Regions from separate parts of the Homo sapiens genome. Here regions 2 and 3 are each linked to region 1. Evidence: promoter capture Hi-C in 16 types of primary human blood cells and fetal thymus (Javierre and others, 2016). All regions are on one chromosome and are shown on one strand. Each heading gives the region's core, a stretch centred on a gene start or on the middle of the fragment in contact. The rest is flanking DNA. Distances are from core to core; before and after follow the strand shown. Region 1 holds the start of VASH2 (vasohibin 2). Region 2 overlaps BATF3 (basic leucine zipper ATF-like transcription factor 3). Region 3 overlaps TATDN3 (TatD DNase domain containing 3).

Region 1 (3,820 bases), core at 739-3,238:
CTCTTTTTCTATCCAGTGAGACTAATTCATCATGTGTACTGGAAAGTCCCTTTTAAGTCTCAGCCAAAAGTCTTTCTTTTTTCTTGGAGCACAAATAAGCTGGGAAGAGAGAGAGAGAGTTCACCGTTTTGCAAGTTTCAGAGGTGAAAGTCACTGTCACACACACACACACAAAAAAACCAGAAAGAAAAGAAAAAAAACTGGCAAAAAGTCTGGAAATTATTCACACTGAGAAGTCTGACTGGTTGATTTCAAATTCATTCACAGCTTAATAAATCATTTGCTGGGGGAAGAGGGGAGCAGAGGAGGAGCAAGACACTCCAAAGAGAACAAGCAGGGTGGGATCCCTGGGGTCTGTGCATTCTTTGGCATCGCTGGTACCTGGTGGCTCTAGCTTTTGCTGAAGGAGGATGTATGTGGGGGTGAGTAAATAATAGAGTTTGGCTGGAGCTTCAAAGACACCTTGGCACAATCCAATTACACAGTCCCAGGATAGCAAGCCCGCTACCTCTCCCTTCCCCATTTCTTAGGCTTCCAATCTAAATATCTCAATTAGAAAAGGGCTGGCAGGAAGGAATGGGGAGAGGAAGGGAGTTTGTAGCAGGACTAGGAAAATGGAGATTGCCTGTGTTTGCTATGTATAGGCTGAAACGGTCCCATCGCTGCCTACCTACCCCCAGCCCCCCAACTCCGCCCTGGAAGCCACTGACCTTTGCCAAGAAGGCGGCGTTCCTGATGGCGCCCACCATTTCTCCCCCCTTAGGGTGCACCTTGGCCACGTGCATCCACATGCGCTCCCAGGTGTGGCTGTCGATGGGGAAGCCGCTCTTGTTGACGTGGAACAGCACCCCGCCGTCTTTGTCCTCCTCCTCTGAGCCCCCGCTGGTGGCGAGGCTCACGGGCCGCGCGTGGCTGCTCCGGGACCGGGTGCCTTTGGCGCCTTTGGGGTGGGGGCAGCGGTGAGTGTCGGCCGCGGAGCCGGTCATGGTGGGGCCTGGGCGGGGAGCGAGGTACTGGGGGCGCGCGGCGGCGGCAGCGGCGGCGGCGGCGGGGGGCGTGTGCGCGCGGGCGCGGCGAGGGGATCAGCGCCCCGCGGGGGCGGCCTTCTCCATGCCTCTCGCTGCGGCAGGACTCACCAAGGGGGAGCGGCGGCGGGAGCTCCGCGGAGGCTCCCTGCTTACCGGCGGTGCCTGAAATCAGCGGAGACACAGCTGACACCACAGCTAAGTGGACGCACAGCGGAACCGAGTGAGGGGTCCCGGAGTGTCTCCACGACACTCCCCGCTCCCCCCTGCACGCTGACAGCCTCCCTGAGAATCGATGACGGGCTTCCAGCCCTGCGATTACCTAGAAAGGCAGCTCAAAATGTGCCACGAAGCTTCACACACACCTAAACCCGGGGGGTTGGGGATGGAGGGGCACAAGGAGCTTGGGGGATGCGGAGCGCAAGATGTGGGGAGAAGAAAGACAGCTTGTGTAGCATGAAGGAACAGGAGGTTCCCGCAAGGCTCCACACATTCCTGGGTCCTCAGATGTGGCCAAGAGAGGAGGGGAGCCACGAACGTGCTGGCATGTGAGCGCCCAGAGCTGGCGCGAGGGCGCTGCAGCAGCCTTGGCTTGCAAGGCGGCCCGCTTTCTTCCAGGAAGCCCTCCCGGACCCCGGCGGGGATCTAGTGGAAAGAGCTCCATCCGCCCCCTTTTCCCCGAGTTCCAGCGCCTATCACCGGGAGGGACTGGCTGCAGGCGGGCGGCGCGCAGGAAGGGCGCGCGGCAGCTCCAAGATCCTACCTCGGGACGGTTGGCTTCATGGCTGCAGAGCCTCTCCGGGCGGCGGGAGAGCAGGGGCTGCTGCTGCTGCTGCTGGGCCTGGGGCTGGGGCTGGGGCTGCTGGGGCTTGCTGGGGCCGTCGCCTCATTCCATGTCCCATTCTCGAATGTTATTCTGTGACATATAACCAAGTCACCCGGGCAGCCGCCGATGTTCCGAATGCGTCTATTGGCCACCGCAACAAAGAGGGGCGGGTCCCGGGCTCGGGACTCTACAACCCCGGGCTCCGCGACGCTCTGATTGGCTCCAGGGGTTCTCTGGCGGGAGGGGACAGGAGTAGGGGGAGCCTGGCGGCCACGCGAAATCCGATCGCTGTGGTGTCCTGAGAGCCCCGCGGGCTGGAGCGTTTGGCCATGGGACTTAAGATCGAGTTTCCCCAGGGGTCGTGGCACTTCGAGGGTTTGCAACTGTGGAAGCAGAGGAGAAACAAAACCACCCGAGAAGTGACCCCGCGGAAGCAGAGGGTTTGGCATCAGAAGAGCATTCCCTGAGGGACGCTGGACACACTTACCTGCCTCTACCCGGGATGATGAGTTGTTCATCCTCTACCTGGGATGATGAGGGGCTGTTCATACCTATGCGTGAAATTAAATCTTTTTTAAATCCCGCATTTAAAAATTCCTCAAAATTAACAAGTGGGTGCAGCTTTGGATCCTCTGGTATTAGTCATGGTTAATAAAGTCCCTTTAAGCCCAAGTTGAGAGGAGACAATAAAACTCAAGAGGTCAGGCAGGCCCTGACTGTTCTGCCACAGCTGTTGAGTGAGAGGAGGGATGGAGAGATGCTTCCAAACCATGGTGAAGTGGGTGGCTATCCCACACTCACTACTGAAACACCTTCTCTTTCTTTTTCTTTAAGAAAGAGGAGAGCAGGTTGAGGTGGGAAGAGCACCAGACTGCTGACCTGAAGGCTGGCTCCTGGTCCAGGTTTGTCACTTTGCTCAGCTGTGTGACCCTGGACAAGCCACTTCCCTGCTCTGGGCCTTAGCTTCTCTTTCTGAAAGGAGAGCAGACCTCCCGCTCTCCAGGGTCTGTTCTGGCTGTAAGGTTCTGTGATTCCCTGACTTCCTCTCTTGTGACACTGAGGATCCTGGCCATAGCATCCTTTCTCTTTAAACTGCAGGCCAGCAGGCCAGCTCTGAGCAAAGCAGTTATGAGACCTATGCTAAGTGAACCTTGAATTAAGAAGACAGTTGTCAAAGTGCCACTGATGGCGGGTCAGTTTCTGGATGCTTATCCTGACAAGTTGCCTGTCATGGAACTGGAACTTCTCTTCCACAGGAGGGCAGAGACCCCTGAGGGGTAGTTGAGAGCCAGGGCTTGGGTGAGGAGACCTGGATTCTGGACTTAGCCCTGCACTGCTCCCTGAGACAGAGCCCATGCCAAGAACTTTATAGATTCAATAATGAGAATAGGGCAGACGTGGTGCCTCACACCTTTAAACCCAGCACTTTGGGAGAAAGAGGAGGAAGGATTACTTGAGGCCAGGAATTAGAGACTGGACCAACATAGCGAGACCTTGTCTCTACTAAATAAATATTTTGAAATTAGCCAGATGTGGTGGCACACACCTGTAGTCCCAGCTACTCAAAAGGCTGAAGTGGACATGTAGAATGAAACTGGATCCTCGTCTCTCACCTTACACAAAAATCAACTCCAGATGGATCAAAGACTTAAGTCTAAGACCTGAAACCATAAAAATTCTAGAAGATAACATGAGAAAAACACTTCTAGACATTAGCTCAGGCAAAGAAATCATGACTAAGACCTCAAAAGCAAATGTAACAAAAATGAAAATAAATAAATGAGACCTAATTAAACTAAAAAGGGTCTGCACAGCAAAAGAAATAATCAGCGGAGTAAACCGACAATCCACAGAGTGCGAGCAAATATTCACAAACTGTGCATCTGACAAAGGACCAGTATCCAGAATCTACAAGGAACCCAAACAGATCAGCCAGATAAAACCAATCCCATCAAAAAATTGGCAAAGG
Region 2 (3,820 bases), core at 936-3,435, 250 kb after region 1:
GACGCCTGGCTGGGCCGGGCATGGCCGGTGCTCCCCGGCACGTGGGCTCCGCACTGCCCTGAGGGCCGCCCCATCCTGGCGCAGCCAGCGACTGCCACCCCACCACCCGCGCCTGTAGCCCCTCCAGGATTCCCCCGGGTGGGGGGGGTGCTGCCGCGGGAATGGAGAACGCCGGACTAGTCAGCCTGGGCGGAGGGAACCCACAAAGGGCCGACTCCGCCCCCAGCTGGTGGAAACCCTTTGCCCCTTCCCAGTTCGCTGTCCCCTAGCAACGTTTACAGCGGCGCAGTCAGGAAGGAGACCAGGTTGGCCACAGGGACGGCCGTCTGGAAACTTTGCCTGGGTCTTGGCCACCTGCCTTACGACGAAGACTGGGTCTTTTCATCCTTACTCCCCACCTTCCCAATTCAGCGCCCGGCCCATGTCATCAGGTGTCGCTGGAGTGTCACAGAGATCTGAGTTTGGGCCTGGGCTTTGCCACACACAGGCTGAGCAGCCTTGAGCAATTTGTTTAACCTCTCGGACCGTCCATTTCCCCATCTGTAAAATGAATATAGTAACATCAACCTCTCAGGATTTTTGAGACTGAATCAGATATGGTTAATAACATAATACTATCTCTAACTTTCGCTCACCTCTTTCTGTCTTGATTAAATGTTTCTGCTGGGTTGGCAGGTGTGATCATGGTGATGAGTCCAGTTTAGAGTCAGCTCCCCGAGGGCAGTATGCAGGCTGCTTTCTTGTGCTAGTGACTTTTTGATTACAGAGAGCAAAGAGGCATGAGAAGCACTATGCAGAATACATTTTTTTTTAAAGTAGCAACTTCAACAAAGGCAGGTAACTTCTTGAGGGCATACTGTATGCTGGGAGCTTTAGGACAAAATCTCATTTCATCGCATCCCAATCCTAAGCATTAGGCTGTTAGCACCAAGTCTGCAGAGTTCACTGACCCTTTGTTTAGGGCTTGTATCCCCAGTGTCTAGAACAGTGTCTGGCACATGGTAGGTGCTCAGTTAATACATATTGAAAGAATGAATGAATTATGCTTACAATAAATGAGAAAACTGAAAATTTAGAGAATTTAAACCATTTACACAAGACCATGTTGACACTAAGAGACAAAACTAGGATCTGTGTGATTCTAAAGCTAAAGAGCTGTCTTCTAACCACATGTTCCCCTGTAATGTTCTGGTTTTGTTTATCAAGACTTCTTTGCCTCTCTAGAAGACTGTATTATCATACTTTGTTCCCTTAAGCTTCTATTTGCTATGTATGTTATTTATTCCTCTCCTTTTTATGCCTTTATATTCTTGCATATCTGAAACTTCTTACCTGCAGTAACTTGGGAAGATGTGTGTCTTATGTGGAATACAAGATGAGATCAAATGATAACTGAAAATATCCTTTTTTGTGTTATTAATATTTGCATTCCGTGAATATTAATAACTGAGTAGTTTTCCTTGTTTGTACCTCTTGGCTCTTAAACTCTGTAAGTGTGGTATTTTTCCCGCTTGGTGGTGTCTTCTCATGGGGTTCTAGAAAGCAAATACTGCTCTCCTTTTTCATGTTTTCTATAGCTGATTGAAGTGTTTTTACCATGGTCAGTGCATTTTTCCGCCTGCCTGTTTCATGATCACTATTGAGGGATTTGACTGAATTTGGTTAAATCTTACATATAGCTAACAGCTTTCAAGACACATAAAAAATTTGCTGACTTCTGAAACAAAATGTCAGCCAAGCATTGTTCAAATGAGTACACTGTCAGTGGGGTTTAAGATCATTTGGTGTGTTGGTAGAGTTATGTGGCTGCAATTAGTTGTAAGTGTAATCATGATTTGCATGCAGTATCAAAAGTACCTTTCATGTGTGGTGGTATAAGGACTGGCAAACAGCAAGTTCCAGATAGCAGATCTCTCCACCGCCCCCCACCCCCACCCAGCTTTCCAGTCTCAGATGGACGACATTGACACCACAGCTCTTCCAGGCACACGCCCTGTGGGCTAGAGGTTTATGAACGTTGATTTGGAGACCAACAGACCTGAGTTCCACTTCCCACTCACCCACTTAGTGGCTGTAATACCTGGAGCAAGGTCCTTAACCTCTCTGAGTTTCTTATTCCTCATCTTTTAAACGGCGGTCACACCACACACTTCACACACTCACATGGTGAGTGCTCCTGGGCAAGGGGCTGTTGTGAGCCCATTGGTATAGCAACTAGTGGTGCTGTCTACTGCAAAGCAAATGATGAAGCTCAGTGAACAACGCTGAGTGATGAGACAGGGCAGAAAAGGGTAAGGCGAGGGGCCACGACATCACACCCACCCAGTGTTTTTCCCCAGAGCCCTGAGGATGATGACAGGAAGGTCCGAAGGAGAGAAAAAAACCGAGTTGCTGCTCAGAGAAGTCGGAAGAAGCAGACCCAGAAGGCTGACAAGCTCCATGAGGTGAGACCGTGGTAGGGGCAAGCCACCTTAGAGCCACACAGCCTCTGCCTTGCACGGGAGTGGGGGTGATGACTGTTCTCTTTATCACGATTTCAGCAACACTCATATCTAATTTCTGCCAGGTCCTTCCAGCCCAGTGTTCTCACTGTTTGCTCACGGACGTGTTCATTTCTCCCTCATCCACTGAGTGCTTCTCATGGTCAAGTTTATTTCATTATAAAACAAAACAGAGCCTCTTCTGGACCCTGATTCCCTTTCAAGTTCTTGCTCCATTTCTTTTCTTCCCTCACGTCCTTACTTCCTGTTTTGTTTTGTTTCCCTCCAAAGTAATCCGCTAACATCTTTGCTTCTTAAAAAAGAGTAGTTACACCTGTTGTCTCTGTGTCCCTGGTTCCTGGTTATTCCCCAATCCTCTGTGATTTAATTTCTGCTACCCCCTTTCCACTCAACACACATATATATACACACAAACAAACACACACATTCACACATGTACCCAATGTGTGTGTGTACACACACACACACACACACACACACCCTACAGAAACTGCTCCCATTGCAGCCATCAGTGCCCTGGCACTGCCCTATCCAGGACTCTCTTTCTGGTCTCATCATCCTTTACCTTGTTAGAACATTCGACACTTTGGACCCATCTCTTCTTAAAGCTTTCCCCTCTTTTGCTTCTAAAAGACCACATTTCCTAGTTTTCCTAACCCTCTTCGCCGATTTTTTTCTCTATTTCTTTGTTAGCCTTCGACCCTTTATTGGCTTAAATGTTGGTGGTGACCAGTGTTTCAAACTCTGCCCTTTTTTTTTTTTCTCACCCTGGAAGACTTAATCTATTAATCTGTTCTCCCAGCATCAGCTCCCAACATTGATTACTCCAGGCAGGCCCTCTGTCCTGGACCCTAGACCCCATAGCTTCAGTGTCTGCTGAGCTGTTTCTCCATGGGTCCACTGCAGGCTCCTGTGATGTACCACATCCATAAAAGAGTGTTATTGTCCGTTTACCCTGAGACTTTCTCTTCTCATTGTCTTCAAACTGCAGTTAATGGAGCGAACCATCTTTCTCATCACTCAAATCAGAAGCCTAGGATTTATCCTAAGCCATTCCTTTTCCCTCCGCCCTCATGCATACACCTGCATAATCCTGCAGTTGGGACGTGGAGCTGCTCCATACCAGGAACTGGCCTTGAAAGCATCCAAGGATCTATCTGAGGAATGGGCCACCATTCCATGTTCTTGTCTTTGTCGGGGTTGGTGTGTGTAATTAAAGATTTTAGTTTAGCTCTCTCCTGCTATACTTTCTTGTCTTTTTGAGACGGGATCTTGCTCTGTTGCCCAGGCTGGAGTGTGATGGCATGATCATGGCTCGC
Region 3 (3,820 bases), core at 564-3,063, 140 kb after region 1:
GTAGATAACAGGATTTGAATTTGTCTTTCTGACTGCAGACACTGTGCTTTTTACTACACTGGTCTGACTCTTATTATTACATACATTAGGACATGCTTCATTATCAAATAATATTCTCTGGAGTGCAACAGCTATATTTAGAAAGACCTGAAATAAAGTTAATATAAGCCCTCAATCTGGCAGTATATGAGGATTCCACTGTATTTACACTATAATGAGAAATACAGCTAAATTGAAAAGAACTCAAATGAAAGATACAATCTAAATAATATAGAAATTAGAAAACCATTTACCTGTTTTTCTGGTCCTAGTGCAGGTGAATCTGTTTCTAAGCATATAGAAGTTAAAGGCAATTGTTTCACAAGTTTCTGCTTCTTAGAGAAAAGAGAAAGCAGCTAAGTTTAAAACATGAGAAATAAAGATAAAGAGCATTAAATTGACATACTAATAATGCATTTTATTCTGCAATAACTTAAAATTTATGCTTTAGGCTGGGCGCGGTGGCTCACGCCTGTAATCCCAGCACTTTGGGAGGCCGAGGCGGGTGGATCACGAGGTCAGGAGTTCAAGACCAGCCTGACCAACATGGTGAAACCCCGTCTCTGCTAAAAATACAAAAATTGCCAGGCACAGTGGCTCATGCTTGTAATCCCAGCACTTTGGGAGGCCGAGGCAGACAGAACATAAGGTCAGGAGTTCAAGACTAGCCTGGCCAACATGGTGAAACCCCATCTCTACTGAAAATACAAAAATTAGCCAGGCATGGTGGCAGGCACCTGTAATCCCAGCTACTCAGGAGGCTGAGGAAGAAGAATCACTTGAACCCGGGAGGTGGAGGTTGCAGTGAGCCGAGATCACCCCACTGTACTCCAGACTGGGCAGCAGAGCAAGACTCCATCTCAAAAAAAAAATAATAATAATAATAAAATAAAAATACAAATACAAAAATTAGCCAGGCAAGGTTGCAGTGAGCCGAGATCACGCCACTGTACTCCAGACTGGGCAACAGAGCGAGACTCCGCCTCAAAAAAAAATTATTTTTTACTATTCAACTGATAGGCCGGTTGTGGTAGCTCGCGCCTGTAATCCCAGTACTTTGGGAGGCTGAGGTGGGTGGGTCACTTGAGACCAGGAGTTCGAGACCAGCCTGGGCAACATGATAAAACCCCATCTCTACTGAGAATACAAAAATTAAGCCGGGGTGGTGGCTCATACCTGTCCAGCACTTTGGGAGGCCAAGGCAGGCTGATCACTTGAGATTGGAAGTTCGAGACCAGCCTGACCAACATGGTGAAACCCCGTCTCTACTAAAAATACAAAAATTAGCCGGGCGTAGTGGTGGCTGCCTGTAATCCCAGCTACTCGGGAGGTTGAGGCAGAATCACTTGAACCCGGGAGGCAGAGGTTGCAGTGAGCTGAGATCGCGCCACTGCACTCCAGCCTAGCCAGAGTGGAAAAAAAAAATACAAAAATTAGCCAGGCATTGTGGTACACGCCTGTAATCCCAGGTACTCGGAAGGCTGAGGCAGGAGAATTGCTTGGACCTGGGAGGCGGAGATTGCAGTGAGACAAGATCACATCACTGCACCCCAGCCTGGGCGACAGAGTGAGACTCTGCTTCAAAAAAACAATTCAATTGATAAATGCTAACTGGATGTTCTCATAATTCCACTACTAAAAGTTATGTTAAAATATAAACACTAATTCCTAAAAATTATCCAAAGCTTCTAGGGAAACCAAAGAATAGTAACCATAGCAAAAATGAGGTATACCCAGCAAGCAGAAATCCAAACATCTGGTATCATGTGCCGACATTGACAAGGAAGTGATTTCTGTTGTTTCTCCACCCTCATCACATTCAGTGTTTCTTTCTAACATCCACTTTAAGGCACTCAAAGCTTTATGTTTATAAATCTAAGGGTTTTGTTTGTTTTTGAGACACAGTCTGGCTCTGTCACTCATGTTGGAGTGGAGTGGCACGTACTCGGCTCACTGGACCCTCCATCTCCTGGGCTGAAGACATCCTCCCACCTCAGCCTCCCAAGTAGTTGGGACTATAGGCACACACCACCACACTCGGCTAATTTTTTTTTTTTTTTTTTTTTTTTTTGAGACAGAGTCTCGCTCTGTCACCCAGGCTGGCGTGCAGTGGCGCGATCTCGGCTCACTGCAAGCTCCGCCTCCCGGGTTCACGCCATTCTCCTGCCTCAGCCTCCCAAGTAGCTGGGACTACAGGCGCCCACCACCATGCCCGGCTAATTTTTTGTATTTTTAGTAGAGACGGGGTTTCACCATGTGAGCCAGGATGGTCTTGATCTCCTGACCACGTCGTGATCCACCCGCCTTGGCCTCCCAAAGTGCTGGGATTACATGCGTGAGCCACCGCGCCCTGCCTTCACTCGGCTAATTTTTATATGTTTTGTAGAGACAGGGTTTCGCCATATTGCCTAGGCTGTTCTCAAATTCTTGAGCTCAGGTGATCCGCAACCCTTGGCCTCCCAAAGTGCTGAGGTCACAGATATGAGCCTCCGTGCCTGGCCCAAATCTAAGGTTCTTATGCAATTTAAATTTTATTTTTTTATTAATTAATGTATTTATTTTTGAGATGGAGTCTCTGTCGCCCAGGCTGGAGTGCAGAAGCGCGATCTCAGCTCACTGCAACATCTGCCTCCTGGGTTCAAGTGATTCTCCTGCCTCAGCCTCCTGAGTAGCTGGGATTATAGGCATGCGCCACCACACCCAGCTAATTTTTGTATTTTTAGTAGAGAAGGGGTCTCACCATGTTGGCCAGGCTGGTTTTGAACTCCTAACCTCAGGTGAACTGCCTGCTTTGACCTCCGAAAGTGCTGGGATTACAGGTGTGAGCCACAGTGCCTAGCCCAATTTAAATTTTAGATTGGGTTGTGGATGGTTTTCTTTTTTCTTTTTTTTTTTTTTGAGACGGAGTCTCGCTCTGTCACCCAGGCTGGAGTGCAGTGGCGCGATCTCGGCTCACTGCAGGCTCTGCCCCCCCGGGTTCACGCCATTCTCCTGCCTCAGTCTCCCGAGTAGGTGGGACTACAGGCGCCCACCACCATGCCTGGCTAATTTTTTGTATTTTTAGTAGTGACGGGGCTTCCCCGTGTTAGCCAGGATGGTCTCGATCTCCTGACCTCGTGATCTGCCCGCCTCGGCCTCCCAAAGTGCTGGGATTACAGGCATAAGCCACTGCGCCCGGCCTAGTTTTTAATTTTTAAAGCTATAATTCACATAACCATAATATTCACTCTTTAAAAGTACACAATCCAGTGTTTTTTGCTATATTCACAAAATTGTACAATCATCACCATTATCTAGTTCTGGAATATTTTCATCACTCCAAAAAGAAATCCCATACCCATTAGCTGTCACTCCCTATTATCCTTCCCCTCAAAATTCTGGAAACCACTAATCTATATTGTGTTTATAGATCTGCCTCACCTGGACATTTCACATGAATGGAATAATACAAGATGTGGTTTTTCGTCTGGTTGCTTTCTCTTAGTATAATGTTTTCAAGGTTCATCCATGCTGTAGCATGACTCAGTACTTCATTTCTTTTCATGACTTTATTCCTCTTCATTCCTTTTTATGACTTTATATTCCATTATATGGATATAGCACATTTTATTTATCCATTCATCAGCTGACGGAAATCTAGGTTGTTTCTACTTTTTGGCTATTATGAATAATGCTGCTATAAACATTTATGTACAAGTTTTTGTGTGGACATATGTTTTAATCTCTTTTGGGTATCTACCTAGGGGTGGAATTGCTGGGTCACATGGTAATTTTATTAAGT

What was found. Contacts are between HindIII fragments. The CHiCAGO score rates a contact against its expected background, and 5 or more counts as called.
Region 2: a contact is called between a fragment that was not itself captured here and the fragment with the promoter of VASH2 in region 1, in 1 of 17 cell types (total B cells). The highest score is 5.4, in total B cells.
Region 3: a contact is called between a fragment that was not itself captured here and the fragment with the promoter of VASH2 in region 1, in 1 of 17 cell types (M1 macrophages). The highest score is 5.1, in M1 macrophages.

The regions. Positions count from the first base shown.
Region 1 is chr1:212,948,709-212,952,528 of GRCh38, reverse strand. VASH2 (vasohibin 2) reads right to left here and starts at 1,988. Exons shown (of 8, transcript NM_001301056.2): 1 at 1,789-1,988; 2 at 711-1,190. The coding sequence starts at 986. RefSeq lists enhancers at 1,283-1,332, 1,853-2,002. The HindIII fragment of the contact is 4,785 bases long and covers 1,381-3,820 here.
Region 2 is chr1:212,695,585-212,699,404 of GRCh38, reverse strand. BATF3 (basic leucine zipper ATF-like transcription factor 3) reads left to right here. Exons shown (of 3, transcript NM_018664.3): 2 at 2,340-2,444. Among named protein-coding and RNA genes, the nearest start is that of BATF3, 2.3 kb to the left of the region's middle. RefSeq lists a silencer at 1-267. The HindIII fragment of the contact is 1,853 bases long and covers 1,259-3,111 here.
Region 3 is chr1:212,808,802-212,812,621 of GRCh38, reverse strand. TATDN3 (TatD DNase domain containing 3) reads right to left here. Exons shown (of 10, transcript NM_001042552.3): 9 at 294-374. Among named protein-coding and RNA genes, the nearest start is that of TATDN3, 19 kb to the right of the region's middle. The HindIII fragment of the contact is 174 bases long and covers 1,727-1,900 here.